Regions from separate parts of the Homo sapiens genome. Here regions 1, 3, 4, 5 and 6 are each linked to region 2. Evidence: promoter capture Hi-C in 16 types of primary human blood cells and fetal thymus (Javierre and others, 2016). All regions are on one chromosome and are shown on one strand. The core of a region is centred on a gene start or on the middle of the fragment in contact, and the rest is flanking DNA. Distances in the headings are between cores, read along the strand shown.

The links. The method cuts DNA at HindIII sites, captures the fragments that hold promoters and counts their contacts. A CHiCAGO score of 5 or more calls a contact.
Region 1: a contact is called between a fragment that was not itself captured here and the fragment with the promoter of MAGI3 in region 2, in 1 of 17 cell types (endothelial precursors). The highest score is 7.4, in endothelial precursors.
Region 3: a contact is called between a fragment that was not itself captured here and the fragment with the promoter of MAGI3 in region 2, in 1 of 17 cell types (fetal thymus). The highest score is 5.4, in fetal thymus.
Region 4: a fragment that was not itself captured here is called in contact with the fragment with the promoter of MAGI3 in region 2 in 1 of 17 cell types (fetal thymus); the score reaches 5.4 in fetal thymus.
Region 5: a contact is called between the fragment with the promoter of RSBN1 here and the fragment with the promoter of MAGI3 in region 2, in 2 of 17 cell types (fetal thymus and naive CD4 T cells). The highest score is 6.5, in fetal thymus.
Region 6: a fragment that was not itself captured here is called in contact with the fragment with the promoter of MAGI3 in region 2 in 1 of 17 cell types (erythroblasts); the score reaches 5.5 in erythroblasts.

What each region holds. Positions count from the first base shown.
Region 1 is chr1:113,648,517-113,652,025 of GRCh38, reverse strand. MAGI3 (membrane associated guanylate kinase, WW and PDZ domain containing 3) reads right to left here. Exons shown (of 21, transcript NM_001142782.2): 13 at 2,698-2,789; 14 at 820-1,012. Among named protein-coding and RNA genes, the nearest start is that of PHTF1, 110 kb to the left of the region's middle. The HindIII fragment of the contact is 627 bases long and covers 1,810-2,436 here.
Region 2 is chr1:113,388,859-113,392,389 of GRCh38, reverse strand. It overlaps MAGI3 (membrane associated guanylate kinase, WW and PDZ domain containing 3), which reads right to left and starts at 1,875. Exons shown (of 21, transcript NM_001142782.2): 1 at 1,041-1,875. The coding sequence starts at 1,356. RefSeq lists enhancers at 830-879, 930-1,429 and silencers at 1,110-1,269, 1,330-1,459, 1,870-2,229, 2,260-2,309, 3,299-3,531. The HindIII fragment of the contact is 2,966 bases long and covers 382-3,347 here.
Region 3 is chr1:113,790,947-113,794,444 of GRCh38, reverse strand. All of the region lies in intron 2 of RSBN1 (round spermatid basic protein 1), which reads left to right. Among named protein-coding and RNA genes, the nearest start is that of RSBN1, 20 kb to the left of the region's middle. The HindIII fragment of the contact is 1,015 bases long and covers 1,323-2,337 here.
Region 4 is chr1:113,872,230-113,876,052 of GRCh38, reverse strand. All of the region lies in intron 3 of AP4B1-AS1 (AP4B1 antisense RNA 1), which reads right to left. Among named protein-coding and RNA genes, the nearest start is that of PTPN22, 2.4 kb to the right of the region's middle. The HindIII fragment of the contact is 3,793 bases long and covers 1-3,646 here.
Region 5 is chr1:113,809,974-113,813,809 of GRCh38, reverse strand. It overlaps RSBN1 (round spermatid basic protein 1), which reads left to right and starts at 1,334. Exons shown (of 7, transcript NM_018364.5): 1 at 1,334-2,100. The coding sequence starts at 1,398. AP4B1-AS1 (AP4B1 antisense RNA 1) reads right to left here and starts at 1,198. Exons shown (of 5, transcript NR_125965.1): 1 at 985-1,198. RefSeq lists enhancers at 934-1,463, 1,200-1,589, 1,464-1,993, 1,970-2,059, 2,210-2,269 and 1 more. The HindIII fragment of the contact is 4,966 bases long and covers 1-3,636 here.
Region 6 is chr1:113,124,337-113,128,385 of GRCh38, reverse strand. It overlaps LRIG2 (leucine rich repeats and immunoglobulin like domains 2), which reads right to left. Exons shown (of 18, transcript NM_014813.3): 18 at 1-4,049. It also overlaps the pseudogene RLIMP2. Among named protein-coding and RNA genes, the nearest start is that of LRIG2, 53 kb to the right of the region's middle. The HindIII fragment of the contact is 252 bases long and covers 1,509-1,760 here.

The sequences.
Region 1 (3,509 bases), core at 874-3,373, 260 kb before region 2:
AATGACCTCATAGTGTTGTGAAGATTAAATAAAATAATCCATGCATCTAGGACATAGTAAGCACTCAATAAATGTTAAATTATACTAAAACTTCTCAAGTAGAAACATCCTACTTTCCTTTAGTAGCTCAGATTTCACTGGGATCCAAAAATCTTTGTATATTCAGCTAGTGGGATATCTTGGTATGACTAAATAATTTTGTATTTGTTATTTAAAAAAAAACAAAACAAATTTAGGCTGGGCACAGTGGCTCACGCCTGTAATTCCAGCACTTTGGGAGTCTGAGACAGGTGGATCACTTGAGGTCAAGAGTTCGAGACCAGCCTGGCCAATGTGGTGAAACCCCGTCTCTACTAAAAATACAAAAATTAGCCGTGTGGTGGTGTGTGCCTGTAATCCCAGCTACTCAGGAGGCTGAGGCAGGAGAATCGCTTGAACCCAAGAGGTGGAGGTTGCAGTGAGCTGAGCTCATACCACTGCACTCTAGCCTGGGTGACAGAGTGAGACTCTACCTCAACTCAACAAAACAAAACAAAACCGGATTTAAATCAATACTCCCACCTATAATACATTTGCAAAATGCATCAATATATGAAAATAATCTTAATATAGAAGCCCAAAATTTATTTTTTTATAGTAGTATTATTTCTGAATCCTTTTGTGTTTGCATAGCCTTCCACAGTGAGGCCCTGGATCACACCAAATGGGTTATCTTAGATACTACTGAATGTAATAAAATAACCTGCAAAACTACACAGGAAGTAGACTAGTATCTTTGTTTCTTTTTTAACTTTTCAGAGCAGGAACAAGTTCACACACCTCCATAGAAGATCTTCCGTCTGACAGTTAGTAACACATGGCCATTTCGAGCAGCAGTTGTCATGAGGTCCAAGACTTGTTTGTGTGATTTCCCTTTAACAGGAATTCCATCAATGCACATTAGTTCATCAGCTGCGCGGAGCCGACCATCTTTCTCAGCTGCTCCCAGGGGAATAATAGCCCCAATATATATCTGATAAGATAACAAAGTACAGTTTGGTCCACAGTGTAAAGTTTAGCTGAAGAGTTAAGGAATTCCTAACTTAGCATTGTGCAAACCAACAGATTTTTGCAGTTCAACTATGAAAACAGTTATATTTTAGAAAGGTATTATCTGAGAAAGTGCCCATTCTCCAAAATGGCACTTCAAATAACCACATTGTATTATGTAATCCCTTATAGATCCTCAGGGCTGTGTACAAAGAAAATAGAAAATACAAAGTTGTTCGATAACTCAAAAAGCACAACCATTATCCCTATCATTACAATGAAACAAAACACTAAACTCAGAAAATATAAATCTGCAGAGTAGCTATTAAAAGTCTGTTCAATGTCATCAGGCAAGATTTTCTACATACTGTTCACAGCAACTGGGATCATTCTCAACAGTACTCCCATCACATATGACTAACGGTACAAGTTCAATATACACAGCACAGAGACATTTCTTGTTTCTAAATCTCAGCGGGAACAGAGTGGCCTGAAGCTTCACTTGCATCTAGGTGAACAAATCTGGTTCATTTTGCTCACCAGCATTAGAATCCTGTAATTAGGCAATCCTGAATGTTTAGGCTAGTTTCAGAGCTGCTAAAATCTGACATTTAAGAGAAAAGAAAGGTTTCTTCTAAGTTGTTTGAGACAAATTCTTAAAATGTCTAAGTGAACATTATGAGTATCAACAAAATAGGAAGCAATAAAACAAAAATACAAATACCAAGAACAATTAAAGTATCTAGTATTTGTTCTACATAGGGCAACCTGCCTTAAGCTTTATGTGTCTCCAATGACTGTTGTAACTGTAACCAATATGACCAATTAGAACAAATTTATACTACATAAATCAAATGTTCTATTCAGAAATAAGAAGCCTGTAATTTTTAAAGATTATTGTTCTTCACCTAACTTCCAACCATATTTTTTGATATATAATATATTGATATTATATAAAATAAAATGCAAATATGTTCTTAAAAATGCTACAGAACACATTACTTCTTTGTTATTCAAACCAAGAGCAAAACTTAGAAACAAAACCCACTACATTTGTTCTCTAAAACAAGTTTATGTGAGAATCATGTGTAAACAAAATCCTAGACTTCAAATGCTTTGCAAATATAACCCTTATGCCTCTGGACAAAAATATTAATTATTTTATATTCCTCTAGTTTCAAAGGTAACAGATGAAATGACATGCAAAGTACTGAGCATGAAAATGCCAACCTATTAATAAGACGAGGTGAAACAATATGCACAGGCTCATGCCAACCATTTATGGAGCATCCAGAAGATAGAGTAATAGTGGGAAAGAGGACATGGGATTATAGGCTTCTTAGAGAAGGAAAATGTCTTAGACTCTGTTTAATGAGGGCAAAGGAAAATATAAACTTAAAATAAGCTTTATGTAGTTATTCACACAGAGAAGTAAATAAATTAATCACTGTCTAATTTGCAGCTGACATATTCAGTTTTTACCCACAGTTTTTAGCCTCAGCTACACCACAATAACTGAGGGACTATGATAATAATGGAAATGCAGTTATTCTTCATATTAATGAAACTGTCAGAGAAAAAAAAACTTAAAACACACCATAATCCACCAAATCACCACTCAAAACGTTTGAACAGGAAACAGCCATGTTCCAAAGAAGTGACACTTACAGACTGGTCAGGTCCATCTCCTCCTAGCACCCTGAAGCCAAACCCTGACTCTTGTTTTCGAAGAAAAACATCCAAATCTTTGGTGTTTGGTGCTGAGGAAAATCAGAAAATATAAATACTATGATTTATTTTAAAAGGATTAAAACAAAACAAAGTTCAGTATTTAGTAGGATATTATAGAGTAACTCAATAAACTATAATCTCAGAACTTTTTAATATGGAAAATTTGCACAAGAGTGTAACACACACACACAATTCAACTATAAATCCTCGTTTTGAGCTCTAAACAAAACTGTATGAAGACTGTTTAGAAACATTTACTCTCACTTCCATATACTCAGTATTACACTGCCATTAACTTCTAATGCTGTCCAATCAATATAACAATGTTGAATTCAGAATGATCAAACTTGAGTTTGATATTTGACAGGTGCAAATGACCTAAGTTAACACTTGGGTAAGGTACATTAAATCTGTACAGGCACTGCTGTATAGAGTGCCTGTAAAATACCTTATTCCTGCTCTCAAGCTAATACCTTTCTCTCAGAAAAGTATTCCATATGAACTACTTACCTAGCCTAGTTTTGCAAAATGATAGCATTTTAAAGGAAAATAATTAAGAGCTAACATTTATTATTAGCCCCATTTTCTAGGTGGGAAAACTGAGGGTGTAAGTAAGTTGGCCATTGTCACATAGCAAGTGGTGAAGCTAAGATTTAAATCCAGGTTGATTTCCAGGGTCTAATCTCCTAACTCATACTGTCCTACCCTCAAAGGGTAGGTTGTATTCCTTAGAATATTAAGCAGGAGGA
Region 2 (3,531 bases), core at 626-3,125:
CCAGGTAACAATTAACCAGCCCATTATATTTTGATGCACCGTATACTCAGCAGAGCACATTAAGGAAAAACAGTTTGGTTTCTAATAATGTTACAATCACAATTCTCTCTCCCACAAACATCTAAGACGACAGAACCACATTCTATCTATGCTGAAACAAAACCAACAATGCTGTCTATAACAAATTCATAAGAACTACTACATACTATCAGATCTCACTGTATGCTGTCTCTGATCAATGCTTTGAAACTGACGAGTATGCCATAAACATAACGTGCTTTGCAGCAATTTTTACTAGCATAAAAGATACCAGGGCAACAGAGGCTCCTTTAACCTACCACTTCAACAAAATTCTGTAAAATCAAAAGCGTTACAGAAGCTTTCACTCCGCTAGGCACCTAGGTCTTCCTGCAAAACCCAGACTCTATTCAACAGCTCCCTGCAAGAACACACCAGTCTGCCACATATCACATATTGTACCGTCATCGGTACTCAGACACCTGAACCACCTGGACTGACAGAGTTAGGCTGTCAGCTCTGAGATGTCTGCTAGAGTGCAAGAAACACTGAAGCAGCTAAGCCCTTCCAGGTACACCAGGTGGTAACCTTGGCACCAAGTGCCTCTATAGTAAAGTCCCTTTTTCCCTGTTAGAAGATGCGTAAGATCGTTCCAAAGAAAATGTTACAATCCTAAGGGCCTTTTTGCACAACACAGGAAAAGGCTGGCCTTCTCTAGTCAAAAACTCTTGTCTGCGGGGGGAGATGGAGCTACAAATGTAGGAAACCCAGCTTCTAGTCGCAATTCTGTGACAGCTAGCACAGCTAGCAGAGCAACCGCGCCAAGCCAGAGCTCAGTTTTCCCTTCGGCAAAATGGGACTCACCAACGCCACCCCTCCCCCTCGTCAAGGAGTCTGGCACACCCTAGAGGTCTAAGATTACCCGGGACAATACGCGGTGGGGAGGTGCCGCCGCTCCCAGGACGCCCACCCTGAAGCCCCTCTCCCCAACACCCCGAGACAGATACGCAGGGCCGGCGTACCTGGTTTCACAGTCTTGAGACGGATGGGCTCGCGGAAGTGGCGGATGACAGCCAGGGTGTCCCGGTTGGTGAGCCCGCTGACAGGCGTCCCGTTTACCTCCAGCAGCACATCGCCTGGGCTGGGCGCCTTGCCCGAGACGACGCAGCAGGTGCCCCCGCCGGGCTCCTCGCGGAGCCGCCCCAGGTAGGGGAACTCGCCACGCTCCGCGCCACCGCGGATCTCCGCGCCGAAGTCGCCCGGGGGCCCGGCCCAGGACACGGCGCACTCCTGCACCTTGCTGAGCCAGTGCTTCTTCTTCTTCAGCGTCTTCGACATCCCGAACCCCGCTGCACCATGGGGGAGACCCCGCGCGGGCGGCCGGGGCGCCGCTCCGGCCCCGTCTCAGCCCGGGGGCCCTGGGCGGCCCGCGCAGCCCGGTAAGGGGGGCCTCGCCGCTCCGGCCCCCACCCCGCGACCACAGCCCGCTGGGGGCCCGGCCGTTCCCAGACGCGAGACGCCCCTTGGACGCCCCTCCCGGCTGCGCTCCCCGGGGCTGACCGGACTCCGCGAGGGCCACCGCGGGTTAGGCTGAAGAAAGGAAAAGGGAATTGTCCCCAGGAGGTTCCAGAAGGGGCTTCGGGCGGGGTCACTGCCGCCGGCTGGTCCCTGGGCTCAGCGCCCGAGCGGCGGGAAAGGCTGAGGCGGGGGGGCGGGGAGGTGAAGGGGGAAGAGCCGGGAACGGGAAAAATCCGTGGGGGGCGCGCAGAAGCGCGCGTAGACCCGTCGCGGGATCGATCGTGGCCGCTGCGGAGCTGTAGCGCGGAGACCAACGCCTGCCCAAGCTGCCAGGAAACTGCCGCTTTCAAACCAGCCGCAACCTCCTCCTCCTCCCTTTTCCCTTCCCCCGGCCCTCGCCCATCCCTCATCCAGAGCCCCGCCCCCTCCCGCCGCGCGGCGCCCGGCGCGCTGCCGTCACAGGCTGGGCGCTTGGGAACGAGCCCCGGCCCTGGACTCTCGCGCCAGGGATTGGCCCCCGGCGGGCAGGAGGCGGACCGCCAACGAGAATGGGGACCACTGGTTGGTCGGTGCGAGTGGAGGAGGCGGGCACTAGAATGACTGAAGTTTAGAGAGGGTGGAAAAAAGAAGTTTGGAGAGTGAGGGAGGGCGCAGAGGAGGGGCAGGGGAGTGGAAGGGGCTGTAGGTCGCAGGGCCGGGAGAGGCCCTCTGCGCGGCGGCTGGAGCCGAGGAAAACTCGAATCCGAGAGGGACCGAGCTCCCCGAAGTGGGGGCGTGGCCGGCGAGTTAGGCGGAGACGCGGGCGGAGCCTCTGAGCCTGTGCGGGGCGCAGAGAGGGGCCGGTGTGCTTAGATTGGAAGACAACGTGCGGAGTCCTGAGCCGGCCGAGGTTCCGGGGCCTTTAGGGTGGCCTGTTACAGCCGATAGTTTGCATTGAGTGGATATTGCTTGTTCATTCGTTCATTCAACAGATGTTACTGAACGCCCATTGAGGCAGGGCTTCGGAGTCCGGTTGATGAAAGATATTATAAAATAGAGTCCGGCACTGCTGTATGACCTAAGACAAATTAGACAACCTCTCTGAGCCGCAGCGTCCTCAGTGAAAAGTGAAGATTACAGAAGATGTACAAAATAACTGCATAGTGCCTGACAGTGGGTGGTTGCCTCTTAAAGTTTGGTAGCTGCTGCTGCTGCTGCTGATGACGATGACGATTTTGTGTTAGATATTGTGCTAGGTACTGGGATTCAAGGGTGAAGAAAACAGAAGCCCCGCTATTGAGGAGGTTACAGTCTAGTGGGAGAGACTGAGAAGTAAGCAGACTGCCTGAGGTGAGGGAGTGGGGTGGAGGTAGAAGGTGGATTATTAAGAACTAACCTGGTAGCCAGCAGATCTGGTTGGAGTCCTGACATGCTACTTACTTGCTGTTTGACCTTGGCCAAATCTCAGTTAAAGGAGGTGAAGGGAGAACGAACATTAAATAAAAGATATCGTAGATCCCTTCCAGCTCTAATTTTTCAGAAATTTCACTTGAGCTTTCTCTCTTCCCCGGCTTGACTTACACTCTTCCCTGTCTTTGGAATGCCCTTCATCTCATCTCTTTTAAAACTCCTATCCGTCCTCATCCCAAATGCCGGCTCTTCCAGGTAGCTTTCTCTGATTTCTTGCCCTCAAGTGGAAAGTGTTTTCTCTGAGCTATGATCTTTGTTTCACTTTTGCAGCATGACATTTATTTGTGTAGTCTCCTGTCTCCCTTTAATAGTAGGTGAAAGCCCTTATAAAACTCCACACCTCAGATAGACTGGACCAAGCTTCAATAGCTGCAGTGATTTCGTTGACACCATTGTATCAGTCAGGGTCCTGGCAGGAAACAAATGGCATTTTGCAAAGATGTGGGCAGGGTGTGGGAAACCACAAGAGAAGCTGGAACCCTGAGGCTACAGCTCCTAGATCTGTCCAATCGGGAAAGAACAGTTACCGAAAAATCCAGACACACA
Region 3 (3,498 bases), core at 581-3,080, 400 kb before region 2:
GAAGAGCCTTAGATGACATGCTTTTAAAAAGTTAGTACTTTTTCCTAAAGATAATTGGGAGTCATTGGTGAATTTTAATAGGGAAATGCTTGCTATCCATTTATGTTTGCAAAGATTACATAATAGTGTGGAGGATGGAATTGGTGGTGCAGGATATGAGATTGGAAGCAAGAATACCAGTTAGTTACGATAGTAACCATGTCATAAATGCTCCACGTCCAAACTGGTACTGACATTAGAGAGAAAAGAAAGAAATTTGAGAAATAATTAGAAGGTTGAGATTTAACTAGTCTTGGTGAGAGAGAGAGATAGTCTTCAGATGTGGTTTGGACAAATGGGTGGATGGCGATGCTGGTCAAAGCCAATACATGGTTGAAAAAGCCGGTTTCTGTGGCTAGAGGGTGTTGATGAGCTCAGTTTGAGATATTTTGAGTTGAAGGTACCTGTGGGAATTTACGGTTAGAAATAACTGTTAGGAGGCTGGGCATGGTGTCTCACATCTGTAATCCCAGCAGTTTGGAGGCTGAGGTGAACAGATTGCTTGAGATCAGGAATTTTGAGACCAGCCTGGTCAAAGTGGTGAAACCCCATGTCTACTAAAAATTCAAAAATTAGCTGACATGGTGGCGGGCGCCTGTAATCCCAGCTGCTTGGGATGCTGGCTTGAACCTGGGAGGTGGAGTTTGCACTGAGCCAAGATCACGTCACTCACTCCAGCCTGGGCGACAGAGCAAGTCTCAATAAAGAAAAAAAGAAAAAAAAAAAAAGAACTCTTAGGAATTGAATGTATGGATCCAAGTTTGAGAGATGTGTCTAGGTTGGAGATGCAGAAGTTGAACCCATTAATGCAGGAGATGCGGAGATGCAGAAGATGGAACCAGCAATAGCAGTGGAAAAGAGATGAAACTAAGGGTGGAATCTTGTGATGCATCCACAAGTAAGTATGATGAACATGGGAAAAGACCAAAAAGAAAGGCAGGCAGAAGAAAGACTAGAAGTTTTCTGCATTTTAAGAATGAAGTGTTTATTTTATCCATATGAAGGATCCAGTAAGTAAGGATGGGAAAGTGGTAGGTTTATCAATTAGGAATTGAATTGGAGACATGATCAAGATTAGTGCTTTGCAAACCGTGGACAGGTAAATACTATTGTAAATTATGCCTTTTCTTTAGAACCTTGCTACTAAAAGTTTGCTCTATGTATGAATTTGGCACCACCAGGGAGCTTGCTAGGAGTGTAGACTGGGCTCTTACCCAGATTTTCTGAATCAGAATCTGCATTTTTAAAAGGTGATTCATATGCACATTAAACTTTGAGAAGCTTTAGAACTCAGCTCCTCTAAGCAGGAGAAAGTAAAATGTAGATTTTGTGCAAGAAAAATGAAAACTTCTGTTATTTTTATATTTTTAAATTATTGTGGTGGCTAAAGCTAGGATCCACATATAGGGTTTTCTTTTAACATTCTAGAAAACTCAAATGTTCTAATACCAGAGCAGAAAAATTTATATGTCCATTGAAACAGTAAGCTGATCCTTGTTTGATTACTTAACTCTTAGCAGTTGATACAGGATAACTTTATAAAGTTGAGTTTCCTTCCTTCCTCCCTTCCCCTTCCCCTCCCTTCCCTTCCTTTCTTTCTCCTTTCTTTGATGAGGTCTCGCTCTGTGGCCCAGGCTGAAGTGTGATCATGAAGTGTGATCATGGCTCACTGAGGCCTTGAACTCCTAGGCTCTAGTAGTCTTTCTACTGTTTCTTACTCCACTGTACCCCAGTACATAAACTTCAGGAAGTGGTGGAACTCAACTTGTTCTTCGCTTTCAGGTGCTATTTCCAGTGCCTCAGCCTCTAGAGTAGCTAGGACTACGGGTGTGTACTATTACAATTGGCTAATTTAAAAATTTTTTTATAGAGCCAGAGTCTCACTATGTCGTCTAGGCTAGTCTTGAGCACCTGGTCTCAACGGATTCTCCTGCTTTGGCCTCCTAGCATGTTCGGATTACAGGTGTGAGCACTAGCTTTGCTTATAGTCTGCATTTTCTGGTGATGCTGATGTTGCTAGTAAATGGACCACCAAGGCCATATAGGTCTCAAAATCTGTACATAAATTGCAAGCGCAAATAATAACAAACACTAAAAATACAGTGAAGTTAAAAGGGAATTGTTTTCAATATCACCTCTGAGATCTTCTGGCAACTAAGTAATTGAAGGATGTACATGGAGAGGAGTGTGTGTTATGTGTTTGCTGGGGGTAGGGAAGATTGGCAAATCTGCATGTTTTAAGTATCTTTTTCAAAAATTTTCATATATAATTTTGAGGTTTCACTGAGAATCAAAGCTTTTTAACTTTAGGTAGTTTTATTTCTTATATTACTTTTATTACTCTATAAAATGATAATGTTCTGTAGCATTGGCGTGTATAATTTTAGTGTCTACGGTTCCAGAGAAAAACAAAAAATGTTATTCCCTCGTTGTGTGTTGGGACAAGGCCTTATATGGGCTTGTTATATGCACTCTGATCTTTGATTGATTAACATTTTATAATGAATTGGTAATACTAATAAGAATAGAACTAGTAGAGTAGTATATAGCTTGGGAAATAGCTCAGAAACCCTTAAGGAACTGTATGCATTATTAGTGTGTTATAGAAAAGGAGAAATAAACATTTTAAGTAGCAGGTTTTATAAAATAAAATGGCATAAATAAAAATGGTAGGCTTGATTCTTTTTTTTTTCCTCTTATTTTAAGTACTCACTTTGACCCAGTCACACTGTTTTTTCACTATATATTTTAAAGTAGGAATGCCTTTCTATTCACAAGGCACAAGGTTAGGAAGATCGCTGGCTAATTTTTTCCTTTCTGTGTTTTAAAAAGTCAGCTTGAATAGGCTTCTTCCTGAAACGTGAGTTCTGTGGAATAATCCACACCCGCTCTCAACCCCCATACACAGGGTTTTCCACATAGTGCTTTTTTAGCTTGGTGTTCTCCTGAGTTATTAACAGATTTATAATTGTCCTTTGTAGAAGCTCTATGTATTGGGGACACAGTTGAGCTTACTTAATTCAGAAATTCATACAGGATAACTGTGAAGTTGAGTTTCTAATTTAAACACTACATATGTATTGACAGCAGTATATATATTCAAAGATAATTGTTTAACATTTTATAGATATTATAAAGAGAATAAATTTTATGCAAAACTATTATTTTTTTTAATAGGCATATTTCTCTTTGATGCCACATCCTTCTCCCCTCCCCACTTTGCCTTCTGATTTTACCAAAGACTGTGTTTTTCCTGTTGGCGTTATGTCTCCTGCTTCCATGGCAGCTTTAGTTTTTTCTGTTCTTTGGTCTCGTACTTACCTCCCTCCAGTCCTCCCAATTCTGTTTGTTCCTCCACTGTGCTCCAGTACATAAACTCCGGAAAGCTGTAGAATTCAACTTGTTCTTTGTTTTCAGTTGCTATTTCCAGGCCAGAGTTTCCCAAACTTGCCAGATCCT
Region 4 (3,823 bases), core at 501-3,000, 480 kb before region 2:
CATAATAATAGCCCTGCTGCTTGGGCAGCAGCATTCAGGAAAGTACCCTTTGCCAGGTTCCTGTGCCTCCATGTAGGAAGGCCCATCTGCTCCTGGCATAATGAAAGTGCCTAGCTAGAGACAAGAAGCACAGACTGTGCCAGACAAGAGACTTGGAGTAATTGATATAATGAGTAACCAAGTGAGAGTAGATCCCTCACCAAAGCGTAACCACATTAGCTACTTTATCACAACAGACTTATTTTTAGGTATACTCAAGACCATGTTAAGCACTGTGGGTTATACAAACGCATAGAATACACTATCATTGCCTTTGATAAATCTGAAAATACAGGGGACATCTTTTGAATAAACTCTTAAATAAACTTATAGGAGACAAGGAAATTGAATAAATGAAAACTTCTATAGCTGAATATACAGATTTATATTGAAGAGATTCAGACTAAGGGAAGATCATGGCGAAACAGAGTTAGGGGCAAGATTTTTGAAGAAAAATTGAGCTTTATGGTTTTATTTTCATTGTGGTGAAACTTAGGGGTAAAGGTGAGAAGTAGAAAAAAGTGGTAGTAGAACGAACGAGGTCTGTAGGTGATGTGCTTGGATAGGTTGGGTGGGGATAGTTGACAGGGAGGGGCTTGGTGACAAGCTAAGGAATCTGGACTTGTTCCCGTAGATCATCAATAACTATTCTGATTCTTTAGCATTAAAGTGCAGTTTTAAGAACTTTCATCCAGCCTTGGTTAACAGGAGATACTAGAATGGAAACATATAGATAGGAAGATACTCTAAGTTTATTGCTATAGGAATCCGGGTGTGAAAGTGGGAATGGGGCTAAGTGGGAATGGAAAAGACAGGTTGAATCTAAAAGACATTGAGGAGAAATTTCCAATAGGCCTTGGTGATCAAAAGAATGCTTACAAAGGACTGAATGTTTCACAGACAGTATATATATCCCATATCAAATCAATGACCCTGGAATGTAGGGAAAGGCAAGAGTAGTGAAACTAAAGCTAAGGTTGGGTAAGTATCTTCTCCAGGGTAAAACATGTCTCCCCCTCATCTAAAAGACAGAAGGATGTTCTGAGAATCCTGAATGTTTTTCCTATTGAATAGTTTATCTTACCCTTGTAGTCTTCCCTGAAATTCTCCTCAATTAATGTTTATTGTAATCTAATTCCTGACCTCTGTGATACTGATATTTCCCCTTAAACTAGCATACTCCCCTCTTCTTGGAACAGGTGACATGGTGACCAGCACTCTTCTCTGTTGTGTTCTTCCTTCTGACCAAGCACTACAGCCACATGAGGCAGCAGTGAGATGTGGCCTTGTCACTCCTCTTCAGGTGCTTATCCACAATTTACTTCCCACAATTTACTTGATGGTTCTGGCAAAATGTTTGTGAGTCTTTTTTTATTGCATGGAATTGTGTTCACTTAGGTTTTATGCCAGACTGGTTTAAATGATTCATCATAAATTCTGAAACTCTTTTAGGTATTTGCCAACCTTTACTGCATGTCTTGTTTCCCCTCCCCAGCTCTTTATCTTCCCGCAAGATACAAATGAGTCAACACAATCTTCATCAAAAAGCATTGTGCTCTGTAGAAGGAAGTGTGATAAATTAAGTAGTAGCTTATTTTTTTAAAAAAAAAATAATAGCTCCAGCTACTTGGAAGTCTGAAGTGGAAGGATCACTTGAGCCCAGGAGTTCCAGACTAGTCTGGGTAACATAGCAAGACCCTGTCTCAAAACAAAACAAACAAACAAACAAAAAAACCCAAAACAAAAAAAATAATTAAAGTTTTTTGTTTTCTTCTTCAGTTTGTTTTTTGCTTGCTTGAGTGGTCTGCTCAGGAAATGGCCTTGTAGCTAAGTGGGTTTTGGGGGTTTGGTTATTTCACAATGTCTCTATACCTTTTGGGTTTACAGTAGAATAGATTGCTGCTTGCTTTTTTAAAAAAGTGTGAAGTTCTGCCAAGACACTATTTACAGATTCTTAGATTTTGAGGAAAGGGACTATGGAGGCATCTAAGCAAAATTTTTTTTGTTATCTCCTATTTATTTCTGTCTTCTCCCTCATTAAGAAGAAACAAGAAAGTTAGTAAGAGATTGTGCTGAAATATAGGCTTGAGAAAAATAGATTTAAATTTTATTAGGCAGGTTTGCCTCATCAATTAATAAAAATTAATAAAGTTCTAGTTTTGTGTAATTGAGGACATTCTAAGGGTACAGAGAAATTATAAAACTATATTATCTTCTTTGTCCAAACATAGAAAATCATTTTCCTTTTAGGATTATGCTTTGCTACTCTGCAATTAAGCAAGTTAGTTTGGAATGTTTTTATTTTTATTTTCTTTCCCAAAGTTACCTAAGGAGTGTTTTAATTTTTATCAGTAATCATGTCTGTATCTTTAGTTCTGAGTTGCTTTATTAACTGGCTAAGGATGTTTTTGTTTTGTTTTGTTTTGTTTTTACCATATTCTGGCTTTCTCAGTGTTGTATGCCAATCTCCTAAGACAATGTTTAGAATTTAGTGGGTACTCAATAAATTTGTTGAACAACTTAATGGATTTTTAAATGTTTATTTCTAATTTTAAAAACGGTATGATAATTTTAGAAAGCAAACTTTATCATAATTCTAAAATTATGATAATTTTAGAAAGCAAACTTACACAATTGATTCTTTTTTGCTTCTTTTAGTCTTTAACTATGTACACACTTTTACATGGTTTTAGTTATTACAAACTTGAAATTTTGTATTTTTATAAATCAAAGATTTCCCATATTTTATGTTTTAAAATAGCCAAAGTAAACATCACGTTACTTAGAGCAGCAAGAAATTCTCTCTTAATTCTAGATGGGGATAATTTAAGAAATATACTATTCCTAACAAATATTGCTGAAGAATGAGGGTTTATTTTAATTTATGTATACTGGGATTGAGTTTCTTAATTTGAAATATTGTCTTTAAGTTGTCTATAACCAAGATATCTCGATGATCTTTCTTTTTTTTTTGCAGTACTTAGTAAAGAGCATGCAGTATCTTTAATGTTCAGATTAAGCAGTGTTCAGAATCATGATATCCTGAAGGAAGTTTGAATAATGTTGCAAAACAGAAAGGATTGCTAATATCTTAAATAGAGGAAGTCCTAACAACACATTTCCCAGTTTTCTTCAGGATCAAGACTAATTTTGTTAACATTTGTTGAACTTCTGCCTTCAATAAAGATGATATACTGATTTTTGGATGTTCTCACACTGAATTAGGCACTTGGGTAGACTTGTACCCATTGAGAGGTTATGCAAGCTCAAATGTGGAAAGTTTTTCTAGAAGAGCCTGCCTTTCAGGGCCAAAATGCCACAGGCACAGCATAACTTCCTGAAACAAATTTATTTCCTAAGACATTGGTTGCAGAGTAGAAATGTGTTCTTTAGAAACAGTTCTTCAGGCTTTCTGCCCTAAAAGTTACAATGTTGTCAGCAAGGTGGTTGATTTTACTTTCTTTTTGTTCCATCACAGTTTACCAGCATTACATATGCAGGGTATTGAGCTAACTGTCTGGTCAGGTGCTCCTTGTGGGGGCCACTTGCTCTAGATCCTATATAGACCAACACTCTTAGTCTTTATATCCAGAACCCAAGTGAAGCTTCAAAGGTTACTGGGAGGGTTGAAGAGGTGCTGAAATCAACACTTCCCTTAATGGAGGTCAGCACTTCCCCAGTCCTGGGAGAGACACAGACTGTCAGAAGCATCTGACTTTGCTTCATTCAAAAGGGAGTTTGAGGTATATATAGCAGACTTAAAAGTTATGAATAAAAATACCTT
Region 5 (3,836 bases), core at 85-2,584, 420 kb before region 2:
TTCATTGCAGTAGTGTTTAGGTAATACTTCTCCAGAAACTAGTGAAATCAAACCACAGTAATTTTATCTGCTGAGTATATATCATTGTAATCAATTACTTCCAAATGTCTTTATCAATAAACAAATATACTAAAAGAATTCTAGGTAACCATGAGTTACTTAGGGCACCATGAGTGCATCTGTAGACCCAGCTACTCATTCCTTGAGCCCAGGAGTTGGAGGCCAGCCTGGTCAACAGAGCGAGACCTTGTCTCTTTTTTTTAAGAGTCAGGGTCTAGATCTGTCACCCAGGCCAGAGTGCAGTGGTGCGACCACTCCTCCCACCTTAGCCTCACGAGTACCTGGGACTACAGGCGCGTGTCACGACACCCAGATAATTTAAAAAATACTTTTGTAGGGACAGAGGCTCACTATGTTACCAACGCTGATCTGGAACTCCTGGCCTCATGCAATCCTCCCGCCTCGGCCTCCCAAAGCTCTGGGATTACCGGCCTGAGACACCGAGCCCCGCCCCGCCCGTCTCTAAATAAATACTTAAAAGAACCCCAGGTAAAAGCTAAAGCGAGGATGAAATTCTAAATGAATTTCTGAGCAACAACTATCCGTAGTGAGCAGTGATGATTTTTGGTGTGTTCTCCGGTAGGCACACTTTTCAAATTTATGCAATCTTATCCTTAAGATTTGAAAAAAAAAAACTTATAAAAAATCTTAAACGTGGTTTTCCATCTACAATTTTTCGCAACTGTAGGGATATATTCAAAATAAATGCTGGACATTTCCAGGCATTAGAGGGGATGTGGCCGGATGGCGAGGAGGGGCCGTCCTCACCAGGACTCCAAGCAGTTCTCGCACCTGACTTCGTAGGCCTGTAGTTGTAACCATAGCAATGCCCCAGATGCTTGAAAACATTTCTGAATTGCGGCCCTATCATATTTTTACAGCAAAACCACCCTTATTTTACATATTACTAAATCCTCTTTTCACCTTCATTTCATCCCTCGTCAAAGTTAAAAGGATGAAGATTCTTTTATCTCACAAAGGTTATGAGAGAAATATTAAATTTAAAATCACTGTGGAGACCACCTCCTCCGTGTAAAATGAGGAAGGGTCACAGGAAGATGATAATGGGAACGCGCCGCCAGACTCTGAAAGCCATTAACATTGTTTCGGCCGTTAGGGCGGTTGGCGGCAACTCACCGCCCAGCGGCGGTTGCGTCGCAGCCAGAAGCGTGACTTCGCGCACGCTCCCTTTCCACTCCTCCACTCAGAGCCGGGGACGCGGCGGGGGCGCGGCGGAACTACAGCTCCCATGACGCTTTGCGCGGCATAGGGTGCTTTACAATAGAAGCTCGGTTGGAGAGGCCTGCGGAGAAAAGCTGGGAACGGCCGCTTCCGGCATGTTCATCTCTGGACGAAGAACGGCCGACAAGTGGAGGGCGGAGGAGAGACTCCAATGCCCAGCGGGCAGTGCGCGGGCGGCGCTTGCGCGATGCGCGGACGGGGGGGCGGTCGGGCCATTTAAATGTGTGTTTGTGGGTGAAATGGCTGCGCAGGTCGGAGCGGTGCGCGTAGTACGGGCGGTGGCGGCGCAGGAGGAGCCGGACAAAGAGGGGAAGGAGAAACCTCATGCTGGGGTCTCCCCGCGGGGAGTTAAACGGCAGCGCCGATCTAGCAGTGGGGGGTCTCAGGAGAAGCGGGGGCGGCCGAGCCAGGAGCCCCCTCTCGCTCCCCCTCACCGGCGGCGTCGCAGCCGCCAACATCCTGGGCCGCTGCCGCCAACGAATGCAGCCCCAACTGTCCCAGGCCCTGTTGAGCCTCTTCTCCTGCCGCCTCCGCCGCCACCTTCGCTGGCACCCGCCGGGCCCGCTGTCGCTGCCCCTCTCCCGGCCCCAAGCACCTCGGCCCTCTTCACCTTCTCGCCTCTGACGGTGAGCGCGGCCGGGCCCAAGCATAAGGGCCACAAGGAGCGGCACAAGCACCATCACCACCGCGGCCCCGATGGTGATCCCAGCTCCTGCGGAACCGATCTCAAGCACAAGGACAAGCAGGAAAACGGCGAGAGGACTGGAGGGGTGCCTCTGATCAAAGCCCCCAAGAGAGGTGAGAGCAGGCAAACTGCCCGGCTTGGGTTCTAGGTCTCTCTCAGTTCCGATATCCCGCATCTTTAGGACTGAAAGACGCCAAACCCCTGCTTACCTTCTGCTGCTGTACTTCTCTAAGCTCACTGGGGTGGACCCTGGATTTCAGATCGTTGACACGGTTTGATCTAACTACTTGAGGCTTCTCGCTCCGAGGCCGAGCTGTCAGTTGCTAATCCCTTTACCGGTCCCCCGGAGCCTCTCAGCATTTGTTTTCAAATTCTGCAAGGTTTCCGCGCCGCGTTAGATTAGTAGGTGGGGTACTAAAAAATGCCTTTCCAAAGAAAAGGCATGTTCCTAAAATCCCTTCTCCTTGTTTTGCTTGCTGGAGAGCTTTAGTTATCTGCTCTCCCTTGCTCCAGAATAGTCAGGGGTATGGTTCCAGTCTTTCAGGAGGGAATTCATATAAAGGTTACACGACTCACTGGTTGACTTAGCTTCTGCAAGGTAAAATATCAGACGCAGTTTATCTTGGTTCTTTTTAATCTAGAGGTAAAAATCATTTTAAAGTTTTCATATTAGCTATTTAAATTCTTAGAATAGGCATGTGGAAGGTTTTCTCTACCCTTTGATACTAGGAAATAGGACCAACAGTGCCTCTGAAAAGTGGGAATTTGTGCAGTAGATAGTAGAGGCCGGAATTTCAGTTGCATTTGATTCTGTCTAGCACACTTTGTGGATCTGTTAATTCCAATAGCCCTCAAGAATATTTTACTAGAAAATGTCAGAGTATCCAATTAAATGTGGATTCTAGAAAAATTAGATTGGCCAGAACTGATGTCTTCCTGTTCCCAAGTACCTGTAGCATTTATTTATATTCTTTGTGGAAGAAATGTGATGCTTTTGATTATGCCGTATGTTTGTACTTTATATATTATTTTATATAATTTACTAGTTGTTTTTCCTCAGGAATATTTGAAATACTTGTTTCTTAGTACTGGACCAGTTAGGTTATTACATGTTAATGAGACAATCTTTCAACCTAAAGTTTTGTGAGTCTTGCATTCTTTCCACGTATTGAGTCTTAAGGCTAATCATTTTTTTTGGTGGTGCTATTTCCGAATACTGTAGTTCGTTGCAAATAATTGCTCAATAAGTATTTATTGAATAGCATTAAATTTTTATTCATTTGGTGGCATCCAAATCTTGGGAGTAGAACTTGTGGCAAGATGACAGGACTGCCAGTTTTCACCACCAATATGCAATGATCTTGCTCTCTTTTTATTTTTACTTTTATTCCCTACTTTCTCATTTCTTGTGTGTGTGTGTGTGTGTGTGTGTGTGTGTTTTAACTGTACAGAACTAGAGGGAATTAGTGATCCTCTGGCTTAAATTTGTATTGTAGAAAAGGAAACTGAGGCCCAAAGTAGTAAAGAGGCCTGTTCAATCAAATCACAGTTAATTCGCATGAAGTGCAAAAAAATTAAATATTTTTTAAAAAGGTGAATATTGGCATAACAGGCAGTAGAACCCAGGCTCCTGAATCCTGCTTCAAGCTTCATCTCCAGGCTTCATGATGTTGCTTTCTCTTCCTGCTATTCATTTTTTCCACTCCTTTGTTTACCTTTTCCCTGTGCTTTGACATTACAGTGGCTTTATATCATCGAGGATCTCTGACCTGGCCCCGTTTTATGGGGGATAGTGGCAATAACATGTGTAATAATTTACAATCTTTCTCTGAAGATTGCACAGGCCCCA
Region 6 (4,049 bases), core at 385-2,884, 260 kb after region 2:
GACTCAGGAAGCGTACAAGGTCTTAATGAGTCAGTCTAGTACAAACTACACCATAATCTAGTAAGAAAGGAAGAAGAGGGATCGCAGATTGAAGGGATAGGAAATTGTGATCTTTAGGAAGTTCAAAGTGAAAATGATCAGAGGCTGACATAGTAAAGACATAAAAAGGTGTGGCAGTACTAAACAGCTCAAGAAGTGCTGCTGCCCATGGGAGAACACTTAGGATTGAAAATAAGTATGAATAAATGCTCAACTTTCTGGCAAAAAGTTGAGAAATTATGTGAGTTTGGAACCCTTGAACCAGGACTTAAAAATAGATATTTTTATTTAAGTGGCTGAAATTATCTAGTGAGTAATATTGGATTTAGAAGAGAGAACTGGACAGGAAGTGTAAGGAAATCTGAAAGCACAAAGAAAGAATTACATTGCATTAGAGTGTGAAGTTATTTACCTAAAGCTCTTTGGTATCAGAAATTCAAGAAAATTTTTGGCTTAATCACTTGTATAAAATAAGGACCGGCCGGGCTCGGTGGCTCACGCCTGTAATCCCAGCACTCTAGGAGGCCGAGGCGGGTGGATCACCTGAGGTCAGGAGTTCGAGGCCAGCCTGACCAACATGGAGAAACCCCGTCTCTACTAAAAATACAAATAAAATTAGCCGGGCATGGTGGTGCATGCCTGTAATCCCAGGTACTTGGGAGGCTGAGGCAGAAGAAGGGCTTGAACTCGGGAGGCAGAGGTTGCAGTGAGCCGAGATTGTGCCACTGCACTCCAGTCTGGGTGACAGAGCGAGACTCCGTCTCAAAAAAAAAAAAATAAGGACCACTACAAGGCTTTACAGTATAAGAATTTTGGGGCCAGGCAAGTGGCTCATGCCTGTAATCCCAGCACTTTGGGAGGCCAAGGCAAGCAGATCACCTGAGGTCAGGAGTTCAAGACCAGCCTGGCCAACATGGTGAAACCCCATCTCTACTAAAAATATCAAAAAAAAAAAAAAAAAAAAAGCTGGAAATGGTGGTGTGCCTGTAATCCCAGCTACTTGGGAGGCTGAGGCAAGAGAATTGCTTGAACCTGGGAGGCGGAGGTTGCAGTAAGCCAAGATCATGCCACTGCGCTCCAGCCTGGGTGACCGAGAGGGACTCCATCTCAAATAATAATAAAGAAAAAAGAATGTTTGCATGTTCTTCTACTCCCAAGAGCACTCTTCCCTTCTTAAGATATACTGCACATTGGTAAAAGATTAAAAACAAAACAAACTTGGAAAAGAAGCAATCTTTGGTTTCCTGGTCAATGAAGAACTTTGCTGAAAGAAGATATTCCCATTCAGAGAAAGCACAAAGTGAACACAACTAGAAACAACTGAAACTCAGTCTGGTATTTCAATACTGTGTCATAACAGCCAGACAACTTTCCAGCTGTTCTTCAAGACAGAAAACTCAGATTCTGACAATGAAGAAGATGGATGTGGCCCAGTGCAGAAGTCGGATGGACAAATGGTTCCAGAAGCTTTCTACTTGCAAATAACCTGAGTGATGAAGATTACAGGCTTATGAGTGATAACAATTTGCTAGGCACTATAGGTGAAGTACAGAAGAGTTGCTGAGAAGGTTACAACAAATTAAAGAGGATTCCCCACAAGAATCAGGTGAAAACAGAGGTGGATGACGTCTAGCACTAGTAATGGGTCTGTAATAAAGTGGCTTACCTCTTTTGGGCAAACTGAAAATATGACAGGAAGTAAGCAAAGAGAAAACCAAGCTTGGACAGCAGTGAGCCAGAGTAATCCATATAGTGGTAATTTCAGATTCAATGTAGGGATCAATTTTATCCTTAATAATGGAAGGCTGAATACAGAAAATGAATATGCATCATCTGCAAGATTTCCCAGGGGAGAAAATAGGGAAAACAGAGGAAAGTGGAAAATCCACAATCTGAGTCAACATTTGCAAGGCCACCTAGGTCAGGTACAAAGTGCGACAGAAGTATTAATGAAAGTTCCACTTACCAGAGGTCAGAGAAGACTGAGAAGCAGGAGCCCAGACCAATGGAGAACCAGAGCGAGAAATAAAAGTAGGTTCCCTCCAAATTCATGGTGAGAAATTTCACAAATATTTCATGATAATATACATCTCAGACTTTTGAATGACCCCTGGTAAATGAGACAGAGATTTTCTAGAACTCAGCAACATGAGACATTGAGAGAGCAAATAACTGACCCATAGTTGCAAAGTGGCATGTTTTTGTAGCTTTTGGAACATGGAATGCCTTTCCAGGAAAACGTTCTCCAGACACAATCAGAAATGGTGAATCTGGGGCACTGAGACTGAGAAATCCAGTCATAGTCCTGATTGTGATAGTAGGAAGAGTTCATCATGGGGAATATTTGCCAAGATATAGCACACCTAATAGAACCCAGTTAACATCTCCAACACCAAACAACAGTCACTTTAGAAAGTGAACAAAGAGAACTCAGAAATAATATTTTCACATTCTGAGCAAGCAGGTGTGAGCACCTATTTCACTACCAAAAGAATTCCTGTTCACAGAATTTCAAATACTCATTTAAATAATACACCTGTTGCAACTCAAAGAGCATTAAAGCAGACAATGACAAGATTTGCAGACTCAAATATGGACAGTGATAGTGATTTGTATCCTAGCGGCTCACCCCAGTCAGAACATGGCAAGAGCAAAGTCACAGAATGAAAGAGATGGTTCTGATATCAGCAACTGTTCTGGCTCCAATTCATGTCACAGTACTGCTTATGAGTCTGACTCAAGTTCTGCAATCTTTAAATCAGCCTCCAGTTTTTGAAGCGTTCATTATACATAAAGTAACAACCCGATCTAACTCATTGGTTCCTGAAGGAATGACTGAACCTTCCTCAATCAATTTCTGTTTCAGTAAAAAAAAAGAGGGAAGGAGGGAGAGGGGGAGGAAATGAAAGGAATTTCCAAACAAGTTTTCCTCTAGGTGCATACAGCTGTGACAGGACTGCCAGGCTCTGAAAGAACAAGCTTTTTATGTTAGAAAGGGAGTATCACCTAGCACTTTTAAACAGATGGCAAATGACCAGAAGTATGAACCTCTAGGCATGAAGAAGGCGGTTAATTACACCAAGACTGTGTTTATGTGTATACAATCACTAAGTAGCTGCCTCTATAGATACACTTCTTAACAAGTAAGTTTTTAAAACTTTTTATTTATTTATTTTACTTTTGAGCCAGGGCCTCACTCTGTCACCCAGGCTGGGATGCAGTGGCTTCACACAGCTCACTGCAGCCTTGATTTCCCGGGCTCAAGTGACCCTCCCACCTCAGCCTCCCAAGTAGCTAGGACTACAGCAGCATGCCACAATGTCCACCTATTTTTTTAATTTATTTTTTTGCAGACACAGGGTCTCACCATGTTGCCCAGCCTGGTCTCAAATTCCTGGCCTCAAGCAATCCTCCCACCTTAGCCTCTCAAAATGCTGGGATTACAGGTGTGAGCCACAGTTTTTATACTTTAAATAAAATTTTTAGATCTCACTAAATTGAGTTATTTAAAATCTGTGATCTGAGAAGCTACTTGTCAATATTATAACTGGATATTACATATAATTTTGGCATATCAAAAATATTTACATTGCAGCCAACACATATGGTCAATGAATACAAAAATTATTTATAAATGCACATATATTTACAATGACATCCCTGGGCAATAGGGACAAAAAAAAAAATTCACAAGAATACAAAAATCTTTGACCTGGTACCAGTTGGTCAAGCCTGGGATTCTTGCCAAAGACCTTGAATATCAAAGCCCCAGTCTCAACTATCTGCCTGAAACCACTGAAGAATCCCAGGCACACTTCCCAGAAGGCTCCAAAGTTATTTTTGCTCCTTGGAAAGCAAAGTAGAACATCGAAGTAGTGATGTTTTCTCAGGACCATTCTGAAGACTAGGGCAATCCAGCATGTTAAGCAGCAATGTGACTCTTCCTGACAAGCAGATGCACACCAGGGCACATCCCCATGGAAGCATCAGGAAGCACATTTGCCCCGTAT